Linked DNA regions of Homo sapiens: all the other regions are linked to region 4. The links are contacts of gene promoters, found by promoter capture Hi-C in human tissues and cell types (Jung and others, 2019). All regions are on one chromosome and are shown on one strand. The core of a region is centred on a gene start or on the middle of the fragment in contact, and the rest is flanking DNA. Distances in the headings are between cores, read along the strand shown.

Region 1 (3,530 bases), core at 703-3,202, 230 kb after region 4:
AATCATAATTGCACCTAAAATACCCAAATTATTCTAAACTATTCTAATTGATCCAAAATTATCCTAAACCCAAAGTGGCCTTAAATAGTTGCAAAGGAACCCAAGTCTAATGAACCCAACCTTCTCAGCCTCAACAACATTAATGCTAACTCCAACGCCCTGGACATTAAGGACTCAACAATCCTAAACCCTAACAGGCAATGGAGCAGACACCTCGTCAGTGACCTGTCCTGACCCTCATTATTCCATACCTCAATGACTCATCTGTTACCCAAAGACCAGAGCTCTGTTTGTATACTTGGACTTTAACCTTGATTTAGGGATCCTGTTGGTGTTGCAACAGAAGACCCCAAATTCCAAATGATGATAAATTAATGGATGTTTGACCCTGAACCCCTTGACAATGACAACCCTAAAGGCCTAATTACCACAAACAAATGATCCTGAGCTCTAAACTCTGTGAAGAAGTTGGAGCAGATCCACATACATCGTGACCAGAATCCGAACCCTACATCTCTCTTCTTAATGATCAGATACCTTCACCCTAATAATCCCAATGATACAAGAAGAGTGACAGAGACTACGCTGAGACTTTCTTGTTCCCAAATGTAACTTTGACTATGATCCCAAGGGCTCTAAACTCTAATAACTCCAATCTTAAACCCTAAACCCTAAATAATGATAAAACATTATTAAGATACTCAACTGTGGCTGGGCGCGGTGGCTCATGCCTGTAATCCTAGCACTTTGGGAGGCTGAAGTGGGCGGATCACAAGGTCAGGAGATCAAGACCATCCTGACTAACACAGTGAAACCCCGTCTCTACTAAAAATACAAAAAATTAGCCGGGCATGGTGGTGGGTGCCTGTAGTCCCAGCTACTTGGGAGGCTGAGGCAGGAGAATGGCGTGAACCCGGGAGGCGGAGCTTGCAGTGAGCTGAGATTGTGCCACTGCACTCCAGCCTGGGCGACAGAGCAAGACTCCATCTCAAAAAAAAAAAAAAAGATACTGAACTGTGAGGCTAACTCTGAAACTCCTGATGGACATCATCAGACTCTTCACCACGGCACTCCCTACCCTGGGCCCACGTGCATGCCCATCACCTGAGGATGTTATTATAAAGTAATATGAACTCACATTTCTAAAATAGATTTATTCCACTTTTGAACCGGGATCCAAAAATCCACTTGAGGACCACGAGCCATGTTTTTCTCATTTTAATCACCAAAATTCATCCGGAATTGAGGTAAAAAATAATGCAGATTTGGTGCTTTATGAGATGAAATATAAGTTACCCCTGCAGCAGTAAAGTTGCTCTTCAGGCCAGTGTGACATTAAGCATGTTGAAAAAGAGGGGGGCAAAGTCCCAGGAGTAGCTACTTAAAGGACAAGAATTCATGTGGGATATTATAAATGAATTATGCTCAGGGACAATGACTTAAACTGCTTTATCCCCTCAAGAAGGATGCTCCAAAAATGCATCTCCCAGAAAATTCAAGATCCAGAATACTGTCTTTTTTGGGGGGACATATTGAAAGATAACATTTTAGTTTCAATGGACTATATAAATGAGATTCAAGTCCTGGTAATAAAGATGGGTCTGTGTAATAATTTCTTCATTCAGAATTTGTAGAGGAAGGATATTAAAGCCTACAGACCTGTCACCCCACCAATTCTACTAGCTGAAAGTAGATGCCAAGACGTAATGTTAAGTGAAAATAGTTGGTGAAAGATACATACATGATGATACTATTTATGTATCATACACACACAAAAGTTGATCTTTGTATATATATAAAATCCTTACATATATTAATAGATACATAGATCTCAATAGACTCTAAGAGATCTTAAGCCTTTTTTTTTTTTTTTTTTTTTTAAGATGGAGTTTCGCTCTTATTGCCCAGGCTGGAGTACAATGCTGTGATCTCGGCTTACTGCAATGTCTGCCTCCCAGGTTCAAATGATTCTCCTGCCTCAGCCTCCTGAGTAGCTGGGATTACAGTTGTCTGCCACCATGCTTGGCTAATTTTTTGTGTTTTTAGTACAGATGGGGTTTCACCATGTTGGCCAGGCTGGTCTTGAACTCCTGACCTCAGGTGATCCACCCACCTTGGCCTCCCAAAGTGCTGGGATTACAGGCGTAAACCACTGCACCCGGCCAGATCTTAAGCCTTATACCTCCTTAAGGACCCTTAAAACTTCAGATTTGCTTTAAATGACTCTAAACCCCAACGGTCTTTATATATATATATATAAACCGTTGGAAGGATATAATTGTTAAGGGTTATCGTGAGGCAAGGATGGGGGCTGGGGGTGGCGGCTTTACTTGTGATCAATTAACTTTTTTCAAAACACAGTTTGTCTTTTCTTCAATGATAGACATGCACATGGTTAAGAAAGTCAAACAAAACCAGCTCTCTTTTGCTCCTACCATGCTCTACCTCCCCTTCCTTCCCACGGCCTTCAATTCTTCTAGCTGATTCTTTGGTACTTGCCATCTTATCTGTAAGTAGCATGTTGGTGTTTCTCTTCCTGATTTGCTCATCTGGGGCCTTATCTTTCTCTACCTCCCTCCCCAATTCTTGGGTCTCCGTCCTGCCAATCATAATTTTTGGTTAGCGCACATCTGCCTTTATGTTGTATAATTGTATAAACATGCTCTCTAAAGCTGAATGTATACTGTATTTGGCTTATTTTTCCATTTTTAGCACAACTTTTTGTTTTCCTTGAAGTTAAAAATTGTCCTTCTGTTTGCTTAGGTTTTCAATGTATTTTTCATGAATTCAGCCCATATTTGTCCCAAATTCTCTAAACCTTTCATATGTTCAGTCTCCCCCAGCATTCTATCCATTGTATCTCCTTGAGGACCTGTCTCCGGGGTGACTCTCAGCCTGGTGCTGGTTGTCAGCAGGGGTCTGTCTTCGTCATCTCCTGGGGTTCATGTAGCACACACACACACTCTCTCCATCTTTATTTCCTCTTTCCTGCAAACCACACCTTCCTCTTTTGGACTGACTTTCTGCTACTAGCAGGATTGCAAATTCTGACTTCTCAGGCAATGCTGCCCTGTAGAAGTGAAAGTTCCATGGGATTCAGGAATTCCTGATTTTTCAAGAAAATCCAGAAACCCAGAAACCCAGATTATTATCAGAATCTCTGGTTTTTAAAAACTGTGGTAGACAGGAAAAGATTGTCACTTGTATTGGCTTGTAGGCCACCACTTGGTTATCTCTACTCTAGTTAACTCAGTCTAACTAAAGTTAAACTGGTCCCCCAGGCCATGCCTATATCCTTTTGCTCTATAGTTTGAGATTATTAAGACTTTAGGCCAGGCGCGGTGGCTCATGCCTGTAATCCCAGCAGTTTGGGAGGCTGAGGCAGGCGGATCCCTTGAGGTTAGGAGTTTGCGACCAGCCTGGCCAACACAGCAAAACCCCGTCTTTACTAAAAATACAAAAATTAGCCAGGCACGGTGGCACATGCCTGTAGTCCCAGCTACTCAGGAGGCTGAGGCAGGGGAATCGCT
Region 2 (3,535 bases), core at 694-3,193, 130 kb after region 4:
AACAAGCTCTTCACTGCTTACAGGTTTTTTTTGTTTTTTTTTTGTTTGTTTGTTTTTAATTTAAAAAGACCCAGGGTCTCACCGTGTTGCCCAGGCTACAGTGCAGTGGCTATTCAGAGGCACAATCGTAATGCACCACACTCTTGAACTCCTGGGCTCAAGCAATCCTCCCACCTCAGCACCTTGAGTAGCTGAGACTGCAGGTGTGCACCACCATACTTGGCTATACAGTGCTATTTCTACATTGCAAAAATTACCTGTTTTTTTCCCTGTTTCCCCACCCAATCTTGGCTGCCACAATCGGACAGACAGAAAGCACAAGGATACCGTTTGCTCTCCCCTGTAGTGGAAACCTTAGCAGCAGGCAGTATGCCCCAGGTCTGTCAATTAGATACGTTCCAATTGTCCCCAAGGGTAAGCACTGTGTAATCTATGCACAGTTACAGTTTATATAAATAGGGACAGGAATAGCAGAAATGAATGAAATCTGTGGGATCTAGGGCTTATGAACTATGGGGTTTATGATTAGCTTTTAGAAGTTGTCAGATGATTGCCCCTGAGGAGTCTGCAGAGAAAAGAAAACAGCCCAGATCCCCTCCTGTTCTCCAGCCAGCTCTGTAACCCCAGAAGGGACTGTGTGTGATGAGATTAATGGACTGGGCCTTGGCTCTGGTACCTGATGTCCCCATCTTTCTCTAATGGAGCTGCTGCACATGATTAAATACCTGTATATCAGTATGTTTAAAAGTGTCAGTACTTATGAAATTATAAAACATTTCCTTCCTGATGAAACTGGATTTTAAGAGTAAAGGATCACATCAATGTTTTATTTCCATAGACGGCCCATGTTTGTCTTATACCCCAACAAATGGCTTTATTTTCTGGCTAAAATCCTTTGCTTTCATTTGCGGTGATTTAAAAACACTCAAATCTAACGTGTGATTTAGAGATGTGCTTCTCAAAATGGAATGAGCTTTGGGGGTTCTGTTAAAATGCAGATTCTGGCCGGGCACAGTGGCTCACGCCTGTAATCCCAACATTTTGGGAGGCTGAGGCAGGCGGATCACCCTGAGGTCAGGAATTCCACACCAGCCTGGCCACATGGTGAAACCCCGTCTCTACTAAAAATACAAAAATTAGCCAGGCATGGTGGTGCAAACCTGTAATCCCAGCTACTCGGGAGGCAGGAGAATCTCTTGAACCCAGGAGGTGGAGGTTGCAGTGAGCCAAGATCGCGTCACTGCATTCCAGCCTAGGTGACGGAGTGAGACACTCTCTAAAAAAAAAAAAAAAAAAAAAAAAAATGCAGATTCTTTTCTGCTTCAGCAGGTCTGGGGTGGGGTCTGAGATTGTATTTTTAATCGCCCTCCCAGCTCCCAGGAGATGTGGAAGCTGCAGGCTCTGGACCACATTTTTGGATTGTAGATGTGTAGAGGCTATTTCAGAGTGAATGCATTATCCCATTGAATGATTTTCTTTCCTCCATTCCTTTACATCTTAGGGGAATTTTCGTGGAAGGCCTCTCCTGTGTTCTTGATGGCATATTTGGTACTGGGAATGGCTCTACTTCATCCAGTCCCAACATTGGAGTTTTGGGAATTACAAAGGTACACAGATTTTTCTAATTAAATGATTGGGTTTCTAAGCATTGGTCCATTTCATTGATCGATCTGGCCACTGCAAGTTCCAAATGGGCGGGCCTCTGGTTCTAAAAAATTACTTCTCTCCTTTTTTTTTTTTTTTTTTTTTTTAAGTGTTTATAATGCCTGTTTGGAAGTCTCTCTTCTCTTGCTGGTCCGGGTAGGGAGGCACTCAGTGCTGTCATTCCATCATGCAGTATAGATATTTATAAAGCACTGACTCTGCCAGGCCACTGTTCAAGGCACTTGGGATACATCAGTGAATTAAAAAGTGGAGTTTACATTCTAGCAATCAACAATCAGCATACTAAGTCCATAAATGATGCATTATGTCAGCCAGTGACAAGTACTGGGGGAAACATGGGACAGGAAGCTTGGGGAGAGGGTGATCAGGTGACCTGAACACAGACCTGAAGGGTGGAGGGAGGGAGCCTGCAAATAACCTGGGGGAGAGCGTTCCAGGCCAGGGTGTGGCCAGGGCCGAGCCCTATCCTGGAAGTGGAAGGTCAGCAAGGAGGCCAGTGCGGGTCAGGGAGTCAGAGCAGGTGGGGTCTGCCGGGTAACTGGGGAGCAGGTTACACAGGCAGGCAGGTAGGTAGGCAGCCACAGACTGCCTGAGTGGAAGGGAGTGCTGCAGGGAGCAGCTTGGTCAGATTTTTTTTTTTTTTTTTTTTTTTTTAGGGATCGCTTTGACTGCAGTGATGAGAATAGACCATGGGGGGCTGGGCAAAAGGTAGAAATGGGATCCCAACTGGGAGGTGTCACTAGTTTTAAATTAAGAGATGACCCACCATTGGCCATGGTATGTTGTGAAACTAAGACCATGAAAATTGGTTCACCATCCTCGATGGCCTACGTCTCACAGGTCTCCCTCACTGAGGACTTGGGGTGAGCCCGGAAACCTTCTAGAACTGGTTGACCTCTGTCAAATTGGGAGGGAGGAGTGGATTTCAAAAGAGCTCTCCTTTGCCATGTAAGATTCTATAATCAGATAAAGAGAAACCAGATACTAAGTTTGATTAACCTTGATTGCAAATCCAGGTGAGAGGGAGCTGCCAGGCAGGCACACACATGCCTGGTTTGTTTGTTGGTTTCCCCAGGTTGGCAGGGCCCTGCCAGAGCTCAGCCTGAGGTGTGCCAATGGCCCCATCTGCCTGTTGCTCCCTGTATGGGGGATGTGAGGGAAGGTTGTCTGAGGGGCGCTTCCTCTAGCGCCATCCTGGAGGTCCTTTTGCTACCCATGGTGAGAAGCCAGTGCTGAGCACAGGGAGATGAGGGAAGGATCTCATGGGCACAGAATGGGGCCTAAGCCATGCCACTCTTCAGCCAGTTTGCTGCCATGAGCTTGCAGGCATATAACTAATCCCAAATCTCAAATAAGATAGCCGGCCCTCTGTATCTGTGGGTTCTACCAACTTCAATTCAAAAATATTGTTTCTGAACTAATATTGTTTGTTTCTGTACTGTTCTGGGTGAGCATGTACAAACTTTTTGTTGTCATTATTCTCTGAACAATGCAGTCTGACAACGATTTACAGAGCAATTACATTGTATTAAGGATTGTAAGTAATGTCGAGATGATTTAAAGTATATGGGAGGATATTGGCTGGGTACGGTGGCTCACACCTGTAATCCCAGCAGTTTGGGAGGCCGAGGTGGGCAGATCACCTGAGGTCAGGAGTTCGAGACCAGCCTGGCCAACATGTTGAACCCCTGTCTCCACTAAAAACACAAAAATTAGCCAGGCTTGGTGGCTGGTGCCCATAGTCCCAGCCACTTGGGAAGCTGAGGCAGGAGAGTCACTTGAACCCAGGACGCAGAGGTTGCAGTGAGCTGAGATCATGCCACTGCACTCCAGCCTGGGTGACAGAGCGAGACTCTGACTCCAAAATAAA
Region 3 (3,617 bases), core at 649-3,148, 200 kb before region 4:
TTTATGAAAACTCACTGTGTGCCAGAAGCTAGTCTAAGCTCTTTGAAAGTATTAATGTATTTAATCCTCACAATGATCCGGGGGTGAGTATAATCCCCGTATAGTATAAATGGTATTATCTCCTGTTTTACAGACAAGGAGACTGAAGCGCAGAAAGGTTAAATAACTTGCCCAAGGCCACACAGACACTAAGGGATGGAGTCAGGAATCGAACTCAGGCACTTCCCCAGCCCAAATGGAAAAGAAGACAAGCCATTCCTCCTTTATGGATTTGGTAAGGATGGCTGTGGAGGAGGTTCTAGCACCTGGACAATGCCATGAAATAGTCAGCATTCCAGTGTGAATTTCAGTTCGAGCTGGCCTGGGTGGGTTCAATGCAAGGTCAGCCACGGCTACCACTTCATTCCCCTCCCCTTCATTCCCAAGAACTCCCTTCCCTCTCTGTGCCCCTAGCCTCAATGTCCCGCCCTGCCTCTGCCTTTGCTGGAACATTTCTCTGCTTCTTCCCCGGCATCCCTGAGAAATTCACTTCTCAGCCAAGGTGGTAACATTACAAATAAAAGTTTAAAATAGTGCAAATAAAACTTTCTGTTGGATGATTACTAGATGCTAGGAGTAGACACGTGCTTTGCAAATTTTCTCAATTACCCTTATTTTATAGAGGGGGAAGCTGAGTTGTTAAGGGTTTTGTTCCAGATTACAAAGCTAGTGAATGCTGCGCTAGGATCCTCTGCGGATAAGGATGTCTCACTTCTAAGCCCTGCCTGTGCCTCACTCCTAAACTACTACTGCCCTCTGCTGGGCCCGTGACAGCACTGCCTCACTATGCTGCCTCACTATGCTACAGCAGCAGCCCCAGGCGTCTCTATCACAGAAAGGAAGGGGTGGCCAGGAAGAGTATTTCTTGTTCTCAAAGCTCCTGCAGAGCTCCTCAGATTGCACCAGTCAAAAACATATTATTAATATTCTTTGCTATTATGGACACTATTGGGGTAACTGGTGAAATCTGAATAAGGTTATATAACAGTAAAGGGGCATGTCTACGACTTACAAATAATTAAGAAAAAAAAGTGTGTGTGTGGAGTGAGAACATAAACAAATGTGCCAAAATGTTAACATTTGGAAAATTTGGGTGAAGGATGTAGGAAATTCTTTATACTATTCTTACAACTTTTCTGTAAGTCTAAAACTATTCAAAATACAAAGTTAAATAATTACAACTTCAGGAAGCCACCAACCCCAGCTCCCCAGATTCAGGAGGTTCTCTAATAACTGACAGATTACCAGAGGGCTCCCTCCTGGCCCCACTTCCTGATGAACACCATGGTCGACAGGGAATTTAGGGGCCCGTGAGGCTCTGGCGGGGAAGAAGCTCACTCTTGGGCAGTGGCTACGGGTATCGTCAGTGCCCACAGGATCCCATGAATGCCCCCTCTAACACATGCACTGGTGCACAACTACAGGCAGTGACTGGGGACCCCCAAAAAGGATAAGCTTGTGGGTATCCAGAACTGGTCAGCATAGTGAAGGGAGTGGGAGGCATTTCTCGTGAGGAAGAGTGAAAAGAACAAGATGGAAAACTTGGGAAGAGAAGGCTGGGCAGCAAGGGGAAGGCCAGGAGGCACTTAAGAATCATTGTAGACATGTGTTATGCAAAAGAGGAATCAGATTCAGTCTATGAGGTGTAAGAAGACAGAAGGAGGCCGGGCATGGTGGGTCAGGCCCGTAATCCCAGCACTATGGGAGGCCGTGGCAGGCGGATCACCTGAGGTCAGGAGTTCAAGACCAGCCTGGCCAACATGGTGAAACCTCATCTCTACTAAAAAATACAAAAATTAGCTGGGTGTGATGGCGGGCACCTGTAATCCCAACTACTCAGGAGGCTGAGGCAGGAGAATTGCTTGAACCTGGGAGGCAGAGGTTGCAGTGAGCTGAGATTGAGCCACTGCACTCCAGCCTGGGTAACAGAGCAAGACTCTGTCTCAAAAAAAAAAAAAAAAGGCAGAAGACAGGAGTCCTGGGCAAAGGCACTGGGAGGCACACACCATTCTGCCCTATAGCTTGTGATGTAGAATAATAGCACTGGATGGAACAGCAACATTACCTACCCCAGAAGGGTCACCTCGGGACATCCTGAGGCTCACCCTGGGGATGCTCCAGCACAGGGTGCTGACCAGTTATGATGGGTTTCTGAGAGGGGCTGGACTCACTAGAGGAAGTTTCAATCACTGTTTCTCAACCTCAGCTACACTTTGGAGTAAGTCCAGGGAACTGCTTTTTTTAAAACTCATGCCTGCATCCCACCCCCAGAGACTCTTATCTCATTGGTCTGAGATACTGCCTGGGCACTGGTAGTTTTTTAGGTTCCTCAGGCAATTCTAATGTGCAGCCAAGTTTGAGAATCAATGGCTTCAAAGGCTCTACCTCTAAGGCTCCTGGAATCTACGAGAAATAGAGACCATGTGGGCAAGATCAGAGAGCCCATCTTAGCTGCAGGAATAACTTCAGTTGCCTCAGTCAAATCCACCATCGGTCAAATCTTTGCTGCAGGAATAACTTCAGTTCCCTTGGTCAAATCCAGATCAGAATTTACCCTGAACCTAGACTCAGTCTGATGGATGTGCTTTTTACCCTAAAAATGTGTTTAAGTTTGTTAAAATTGAGAAGTGATATTAACGGAAATGGCACAATGGTGTTTATTTCATTTGAGAACTCCCTAAGTTTTGGTTGATTTGGGAACTGGCAGTGTCCTTTGGTAAATATTGGATGGCGTGTAAGTGAGTACGCCATGGCCAGGCCATGAGTCCATCTCTGGGACTTCCCACCCCGACTGCCTGGCCTCTAAATAATCAAATAGAGAAGTTACTCTTGCTTTGTTTCCCTTCCTCTCCTTTCCCAGGAGACCAAAAGGTAAAGCTGCCCTTTCTTCTCAAGGGAAGAGCACTCAGGCCTCTAGAATTCTGGCCCCAGGAGAAAATTAATAGCTGCTTCTGCTGTGAGGTGGGAGTGGGGCCACCTGAAGGCAACTCTACCCAGGCCTTTCCCCAGGCCTGAAGGCTGGATTGTCTTATTGAAGGGAAGGGAGTAGCCCTAGCTAAAAAGTAGATCCTCAAGTCCAAAACGACGGAGGGGCTCATCTCCAGACCTTAGCTCCTCTCCGTCGATGATTTTATCCAGTCTTCCGGCTCCTGGTGTAGAATAACGCGCACACCCTCATCACTCTCAAATTTCTATTTCCATCTCGGACTACTCCCCAGGACTGGACATCCCTGTGTGGGTATCTCACAGGCATCTCAAACCTAGCGTGTCCAAACCCAAACTCCTGACTGACCCTCTCTAATCCACCTCCCACCTGCACCTGTCCTCCCACAGCCGTCCACAGTTTAGAAATGGCAGCACCATCCTTCCGGCCGCCCAAGCCAACTTCACAGCCCTCCTTGACTCCTCTTCGTCCCTCTCCTCCATACCTAATCCTTCTGCAGATTCTGACAATCTGACCATTTCTCACCACCGCCCCACTCCCATATCCCCTGCTGAGCCACGTGTGTGTGTGTGTGTGTGTGTGTGTGTGTCTGTGTGTGTGTGTCTGTGTGTGTGTGTGTCTGTCTCTCTCTCTT
Region 4 (3,377 bases), core at 11-2,510:
ACAGAGTGAGACCTTGTCTCTAAAAAATTAAATATAAGCAAATAAAAATGCAGTTATTAGATAAATAAATGGGAAGACACATTATTGTCAAGACACAGACCACACTTGCCTATTTCATAAAATTCCTTTAGTTGCTGCTCCCCCAACTGCATTAATATGTGTGATGTCACTTTCCAAAACTGTGTAAAACACATAAATAATTCTGATTATAAAATCAATTTCTCTCCATGTGAGGTCAGACAGACACCGTCTACAATTCTGTTTCTCAAGAGTTGCCCGGGAACTAGTACATTATCATTCAGTTAGTAAAGCAACCATGACAACGGTTTCAAGATGGAAGGTGTTAAGAAAGTACTAATTATTAGAACATTTAAAAAATTGTATTCAGATTTCAGCAGTGGCTCAATACGTGTGGTCCCCAGACCAGTAGCATCAGCATCACCTGGGAACTTGGCAGAAATGCAGATTCTGGAGCCTCACGCCAGACCTCCAGCCTTAGCAACTCTGGGGGTGGGGCCCAGCCATCTGCATCTTAATGAAGTCCTCAAAGTGAGGCTGCCCAGCTCTAAGACCGAGGGCCAGGGATTTACACTTGGCCTTTCTGCTTAGCGGTCCAAGAACCTCACCCGGGGGCATCACCTGGGGACAATTTAGAAGTGCAGACTTTTGGGCTGCACCCCAGAGCCACTGAATGTGAACCCGCCCCTAGCCTAACACGACCCCCAGAGAATTCACGTCTGAAAAGCCTTGGTCTGTATTACGATCTCTGCATGAGGTAAGAAGGACTTCTTCTCCAGTTAGGTTAAAAAAACTGGCTACCTAAGTGGAGAAGCGGTGAAATTGTTTTAAAACATCCAACCCACTGAGCCCAATGCACCACAAACTGCTTGCTTATCACGCTCGAGCAATGACAGGGCTCGGTGGCAGGCGGGGTAAAAAGGGGGGACCTGGACCAGGACACTCAGGGACCAGCGCTCTGCTTGCCAGGTGGGTCCCCAGGAACAGGTGTGACTGGTGGGAAGGGTCGCGAAGGGGGGCGATCTTTCTGCGCAGGGGAGGGAAATGAAAGGAACGGGAAGGGGACGGCTGGGTGCGAGGCCCGGGATGTTCCGGGGAGCGCTGCCGGGTGCCAGGGAGCAGCCCCTCCCCGGGGGGAGGCCCGAGGGCAGGGGTCGGGGGCGGGGAGGGAGGTGGGCCCCAGACCGGCGCGGGGGCGGGCGGCTCCGCTGCACCCCGCCCCCGGCCCGCCCCTCCGCGGCGCCATTTTGCAGGCGGCTGTCGCGGGGACCGGAGGCGGAGGCTGCAGCGGGCACTGCGGCGCCGAGGCGCGGCGGCAGGACGGGAACCACGCGAGCTGCAGCCAGGTGAGAGCCCGGCCGCCGCGCCCCCTGCCCGGCCTGCGGGCCGCACCTGCCGGCGGGGCCGCGAGGTGCTCGCCGCGCCCACGAGGCCGGCCTGGCACGGCCCCCGCGCGCTGTCACCCACCGGCCCCGCGGCGCGGCCTGCGCGCCCCCACCCCGACCCATCTCCCGGGACCCCGCGCCCGCCGGCCACCCTGGCCCCGGGGCCCAAGATGCCCGGCGGCCCTCAGCTCCTGCCGTTCTGCCGGCCGGGCCGGGCCCCCGGGGTACCCACCCCTTCCCGCCACGGGAGCCACAGCGCGCTCGGGCCCTCAGGCCGCGCAGCGGGGAGGCAAATGGGGCGCCCCCAGAACCCCACTGGCTGCCGCCGCCTCCTCCCGGGCTCTGCGCCCGCGCGTCCTGGGGTCGCTTCCCTCGCCCCTCCCCCGGTGGTGCGCACGGGCATCGTCTCGCCCCCTGGAATTCAGGGGCATCAGGAGGGGCGGCAAGAGGGTGCCTTTTACATTCTTGCTTTCTTCCCTTCTACAAAGACTGCGCGAAGTAATTTTAGAAGCAGCTCCTCCGACCCCGGGGCCTTTCTGGCCTGTTCCCTGGGGGGTCGCGAGTCCCCCTCCTTGCCACCTTTCGGGGGGAAAAAATGACATTTCGAGTGTGACTACTTTAAGGCGCAGGATTTTCTCCTTCGTTTGGTCCTAGATGCCCCCCCTTGGATGGGTGGCTGATAGGATGTCGGCCTGCAGGCTGGGGGTTTAAGCGTGACTGATGGGAAATTATCGATTGTCAGGGCAAAGGGTAAATGAGGGCAACTGCAGGTGGAAGAAAGTCACCCATAAGGGCTTTCTGGGTCTGCAGCGTTTGTAGTAGGTGCTACTTCTATTCTTGCAGTGCTGGGAGACGGGCGGGGGAAGATGCAGTCCCTGCTGACAATTGGGTCATCTGCGCGCAGAGAAGGCCCCGGGATGTGCGAGGACATGGGACTGGGAGTCCGGAGGCAGTCTGGTTTGAGCTGTCACTAATTGGCCATGTGACCTCCCTCAGCCGGCTTCGTCCTCTCTGAAGCAAAAGGCTGGAATTGGGGTGGCTGGAGCATTTTTATTTTATGCTTTTGTATTTGAATGCTGTTGGGTTTGGGCCTCACCGTTTCTGGTTGTCTACACCTGCCTTTTTCACCGTTGCAGGTGACGTTGCCTGCCTCCCCTGAAGGTGTTTGAACCTGGTGAGATGTATAAAGGGCCCTTTTCAGCTCAAAAAATCAGAATTCTGTGCTGGGTTATGGTTGGCTCTATCAGGGTCACTTATGAACGTATTACTACTGTTCTCTTTTCATTCATCCCCAATTTAATGGCTTTTGGGCACCAGTGGGTGTGCCCAGTGTAAGCTCTCATGGCACACCTGCTAGTTAAAGGGAGGCAGCAGGTGTGTCCAGCCTGTTCCATGTGACATCCTGAGCATGAGGTATCTGCTTTCTAGGCTATTTCCTTTGCCAAAATGGCAACCAGCTTCTTTCTTTTAATACCAAGGCATTTCTCTTTTGGTTTCTTTGCTTAGAGTGGAGGGTGATTTTTTAAGACAATAGGTATTTCAGGAACTTTTTATGTTGACAGTATTTTAGATGGTTGTCTGGCAGTTGTATTCTCTGACTGTGGCACGGTCAATTAAGTCAATTAAGTTTAAACATCTGTTGACATGTTTAAAAAATGCCTATTGAAGTACCTGGGCCGGGTGTTGTGGTTCACACCTGTAATCCCAGCACTTTGGGAGGCTGAGGTGGGAGGATTGTTTGAGGCCAAGAGTTCAAGACCAGCCTAGGCAACCCAGCAAGACTCCTGTTTCTATAAAAAAAAAAAAAAAATAGCTGAGTATGGCGGCCAGCTTAAAAAAAACCAGTACCTGGCTAGAAAAATGTAGATGGTTTTGCTAGGTTTCATGCCATACTATCTATCTCATTGATGGAGCAAACTCTAGTCTATGTAGCATTGCAGAAGTGAGTCATGTGTCCCGGGGCAGGCAAGCACA
Region 5 (3,304 bases), core at 640-3,139, 180 kb before region 4:
GTCCCAAAAAATGTGTCCCCAAAAAAGATTATATAAATCTGTAAAAATATTTTCCTTTCTTTTTTCAAGACACGATCTTGCCCCATCACCCAGGCTGGAGTATAGTGGCACTATCACAGCTCCTTGAAGCCTCAACCTCCTGGGCTCAAGAGATCCTCCCATCTCAGCCTCCCAAGGAGCTGGGACTACAGGTGCATGCTACCACCATGCCTGGCTAATTTTTAAATGTTTTAGTAAAGGCAAGGCCTCACTAAGTTCCCCAGGCTGCTTTTGAACACCTGGCCTCAAGCAATCCTCCTGCCTCAGCATCCCATAGTGCTAGGATTACAGGCATGACCCACCACGCCCAGCCTATTTTCTTTATTATCTTTTTTTTTTTTTAATCAGTTGTCAGTGTTTTCCTTTGGCCTTTCTCCAGGAAGACATGAAGACATGGCCACAATACAACACAGCTAGATTTCTTCTGTCTGCCAGGCTGATCTACTCACATTGAGAGCACCACCCTCCCCTCACAGTGGTATTTCACATTAGGGTAATCCATTTACCTTGATGAGTGGGGTCCGACCAAAGAAAAAGCCAAACATATAGGCCATGATGTCATTACAGATCACACAAGATATGGGGACAATGAACCTAGAAATGAACCAAAGTAAGGATCAACTCAAGCAAGGTGACAGTACCTCAAAAGTACACAAAATAGTGCCATTCTTAAATTCCAGCACCAAAATCACCCATAAAATTCTGGTAACCCATTAAGGAGTAAGTTAAAAACATAAAAAATACCAAAAAAGTCATACCTAGTACCTAGCACAGAGTACATATTCAAGTGTTTACTGAATGACTACTGAATAAGTGGAGGTTGCAAACTAAAAGGTCATCTGTCCTTTTTTCATGATAAAGAAATATACGTAAACAATGAGAGAAATTTAATTGTAAAAGGAACAAAAAGTTTTCCTTCTTTCTCCCATCCCTATCTCCATTCCCAAAAATAACCACTTCTAATCGTTTCTAATTTTTATTTTTCTAGTGGTTACCTCCCCAATTCTAAATAGTATGCTTTAATGACTCTTTCATTATTTACTGACTTTTCTTGCTGTTTATTACTAGCTCTAGTTGGCCCTATCTTTCCCCAGGACTGTATTTGAGTGTGAAACCCCAACACGCACAGCTAGATTTCCCCTCTGCCCACTCCCCTGCTGATCCAGTCATCCTCACTATGAAAGAGGTGGTTTCCACACTTGTTCTCTCTCTCCTCACCCTCCACTCCCTGACACTGACACTTTTTAAAAAGTTCTTTGATTACAGGTTTGTTTGTTTGTTTCTGTTTTTGTTTTTGAGACAGAGTCTCTGTTGCCCAGGCTGGAGTGCAGTGACACAATCTCGGCTCACTGCAACCTCCACCCCCAGGTTAAGTGATTCTCCTGCCTCAGCCTCCGGAATAGCTAGGATTACAGGCACCTGCCACGCCACCACACCAGCTATTTTTTTGTATTTTTAGTAGAGACGGGGATTTCACTATGTTGCCCAGGCCGGTCTTCAACTCCTGACCTCGTGATCCGCCTACCTTGGCCTCCAAAAGTGTTGGGTTACAGGCGTGAGCCACCGCGCCCGCCCTTTAACCTTTTCACTAAGATCACCTAGCTGCTTCAGTTGGCCAGTGATTTCTATCAATGCTGATACATGAAACCACTGCATTTTTGGAATAAAATCCACTCGGTATTTGCATATTATTCCCTTGACACACTGCCAGATTCTATTTGCTAGTATTTTATTTAGAATGATTTATCTATAATCGTAGCAGAAATGGGTTTATCATTCCTGCTTCTCTCTCCTCATTGGCTTTGGTATAAAGGTTAGATAAAACTCAGCTGTTAACCCATTTGGTCCTGTTTCTCTTTCCAGATATGGAATCTTACATAATTTTCAAAGCTCATTTACAGTTACTGATCTATTCACGTTTTCTTCTTCATGACTTTTAGTATATATTTTGTCAGGAAATCATGAATATTTCCTCTAGGTTTTCAAATCTGTTGCCATACATGTTGCATTGTCTTTGAGTCTTTAAATATTCCTGTACCTATTAGTCTAGAACAGTGGTTCTCAGAGCATAGGTCCTGTCCAGCAATATAAGCACCACCCAGGAATGTACTAGAAATTCAAATTCTCAAGCCTACCCCAGATCTAATGAATCAAAAAGTCAGGGGTGGGGTCCAGCAATCTGTGCTATAATGAACCCTGCAGAGGATTCTGATGTGGCTCAAGGTGAGGGCCACTGGCTTAGAGGGGGGTATCTGTACACGAGAAACACTCACAAAATAAAAGGGAAAATCCAACTCCCAATTCTCACCAGATCATTCCTTCAAATAGGTTGTGGATAACAAGATGTGACTGTGTTACAACAATCAGCAATGTCACATGGGTCCAGCCAAACTGCAAAAAAAAGAAAAATAAACACTACTTACCAGTTTACCTTGAAAGTAACTTCAAAGAACAATCAATACCAAATAGAAAACTGCTGAGAAGCAGGTAGGAAAAATATCTGCTTTTGTATCTGACTTATTGAAAGTGAACAGGTAAGATCAGGCTTCTGAGAGTAATACTTTGTCCCCCACAGCCCACTAGTGAGTGAGCTCTCCCATGCTCTGAAAGCCTGGGTATTTTTCATTTTCTTAGTAGTTATTGAGCACCTGGAGCACTCAGAGAGGAGCTGTTCTCTAGTGAGTCAGGGAATAAGTGGTAGCAAGTGATGTACCAGACAGGACATCTGTGGGCAGTGTCTGAAGCTTCAGCTTGTGCCTTCTCTGGAGCCCACCTCAGGGTCCTAGTGGAGAGGCTGCTTAAGGTGTAAGTAACAGTGACTGGGTCTAAGTCAACGTAGAGCCATTAAACCTAAATGGGCATTCTTCCTTCATGCTCTAGATGCATACATATCAGACCATGTTCCTGAGTTTTGATTTGTCACAGAAAGCATGAAAGGCTTGTTGAGTTCCTGAAAAACTTCATTTAAATCAAGAATTCTGACACACACGCATGCATTTCCTTTACCATGTAGAACTGCAGTCGATAATGCTTCTTGACCAGACTCAGTACAAACATGCAGAATCCTAGTTTGAGGTGGGAGGAGAAAAGAAAAATGAATTATGTTCTGCATTTATCTTTGCCCTCCTTTAGCTATGTTAAGTGGTTCTTTGGCTAATTTATTCCCAGCAGCTAACCAGTGCACAATGTCAAAGCCCAGGGGAGAAAAACATTACCCAGATAAACAGTCACAAGGAAAAAATAACTCCTCCCAAACAGTAAAAGG

The links. Contacts are between HindIII fragments. The study calls those that stand out against the background at their distance.
Region 1: a contact is called between a fragment that was not itself captured here and the fragment with the promoter of SLC23A2 in region 4, in 1 of the 25 tissues and cell types used here (IMR-90 fibroblasts).
Region 2: a contact is called between a fragment that was not itself captured here and the fragment with the promoter of SLC23A2 in region 4, in 4 of the 25 tissues and cell types used here (bladder, heart right ventricle, pancreas and 1 more).
Region 3: a fragment that was not itself captured here is called in contact with the fragment with the promoter of SLC23A2 in region 4 in 1 of the 25 tissues and cell types used here (lymphoblastoid cells).
Region 5: a contact is called between a fragment that was not itself captured here and the fragment with the promoter of SLC23A2 in region 4, in 1 of the 25 tissues and cell types used here (thymus).

Annotation. Positions count from the first base shown.
Region 1 is chr20:4,766,287-4,769,816 of GRCh38, reverse strand. No RefSeq gene overlaps it. Among named protein-coding and RNA genes, the nearest start is that of PRNT, 27 kb to the right of the region's middle. The HindIII fragment of the contact is 6,418 bases long and covers 1-3,530 here.
Region 2 is chr20:4,865,842-4,869,376 of GRCh38, reverse strand. SLC23A2 (solute carrier family 23 member 2) reads left to right here. Exons shown (of 17, transcript NM_005116.6): 13 at 1,502-1,607. Among named protein-coding and RNA genes, the nearest start is that of RASSF2, 44 kb to the right of the region's middle. The HindIII fragment of the contact is 5,571 bases long and covers 1-3,535 here.
Region 3 is chr20:5,202,751-5,206,367 of GRCh38, reverse strand. No RefSeq gene overlaps it. Among named protein-coding and RNA genes, the nearest start is that of CDS2, 78 kb to the right of the region's middle. The HindIII fragment of the contact is 3,450 bases long and covers 174-3,617 here.
Region 4 is chr20:4,999,393-5,002,769 of GRCh38, reverse strand. SLC23A2 (solute carrier family 23 member 2) reads left to right here and starts at 1,260. Exons shown (of 17, transcript NM_005116.6): 1 at 1,260-1,364. RefSeq lists an enhancer at 715-864, a promoter at 1,173-1,371 and silencers at 1,155-1,394, 1,585-1,744. The HindIII fragment of the contact is 14,848 bases long and covers 1-1,946 here.
Region 5 is chr20:5,182,187-5,185,490 of GRCh38, reverse strand. It overlaps CDS2 (CDP-diacylglycerol synthase 2), which reads right to left. Exons shown (of 13, transcript NM_003818.4): 6 at 3,046-3,104; 7 at 2,348-2,430; 8 at 546-633. Among named protein-coding and RNA genes, the nearest start is that of CDS2, 57 kb to the right of the region's middle. The HindIII fragment of the contact is 3,477 bases long and covers 151-3,304 here.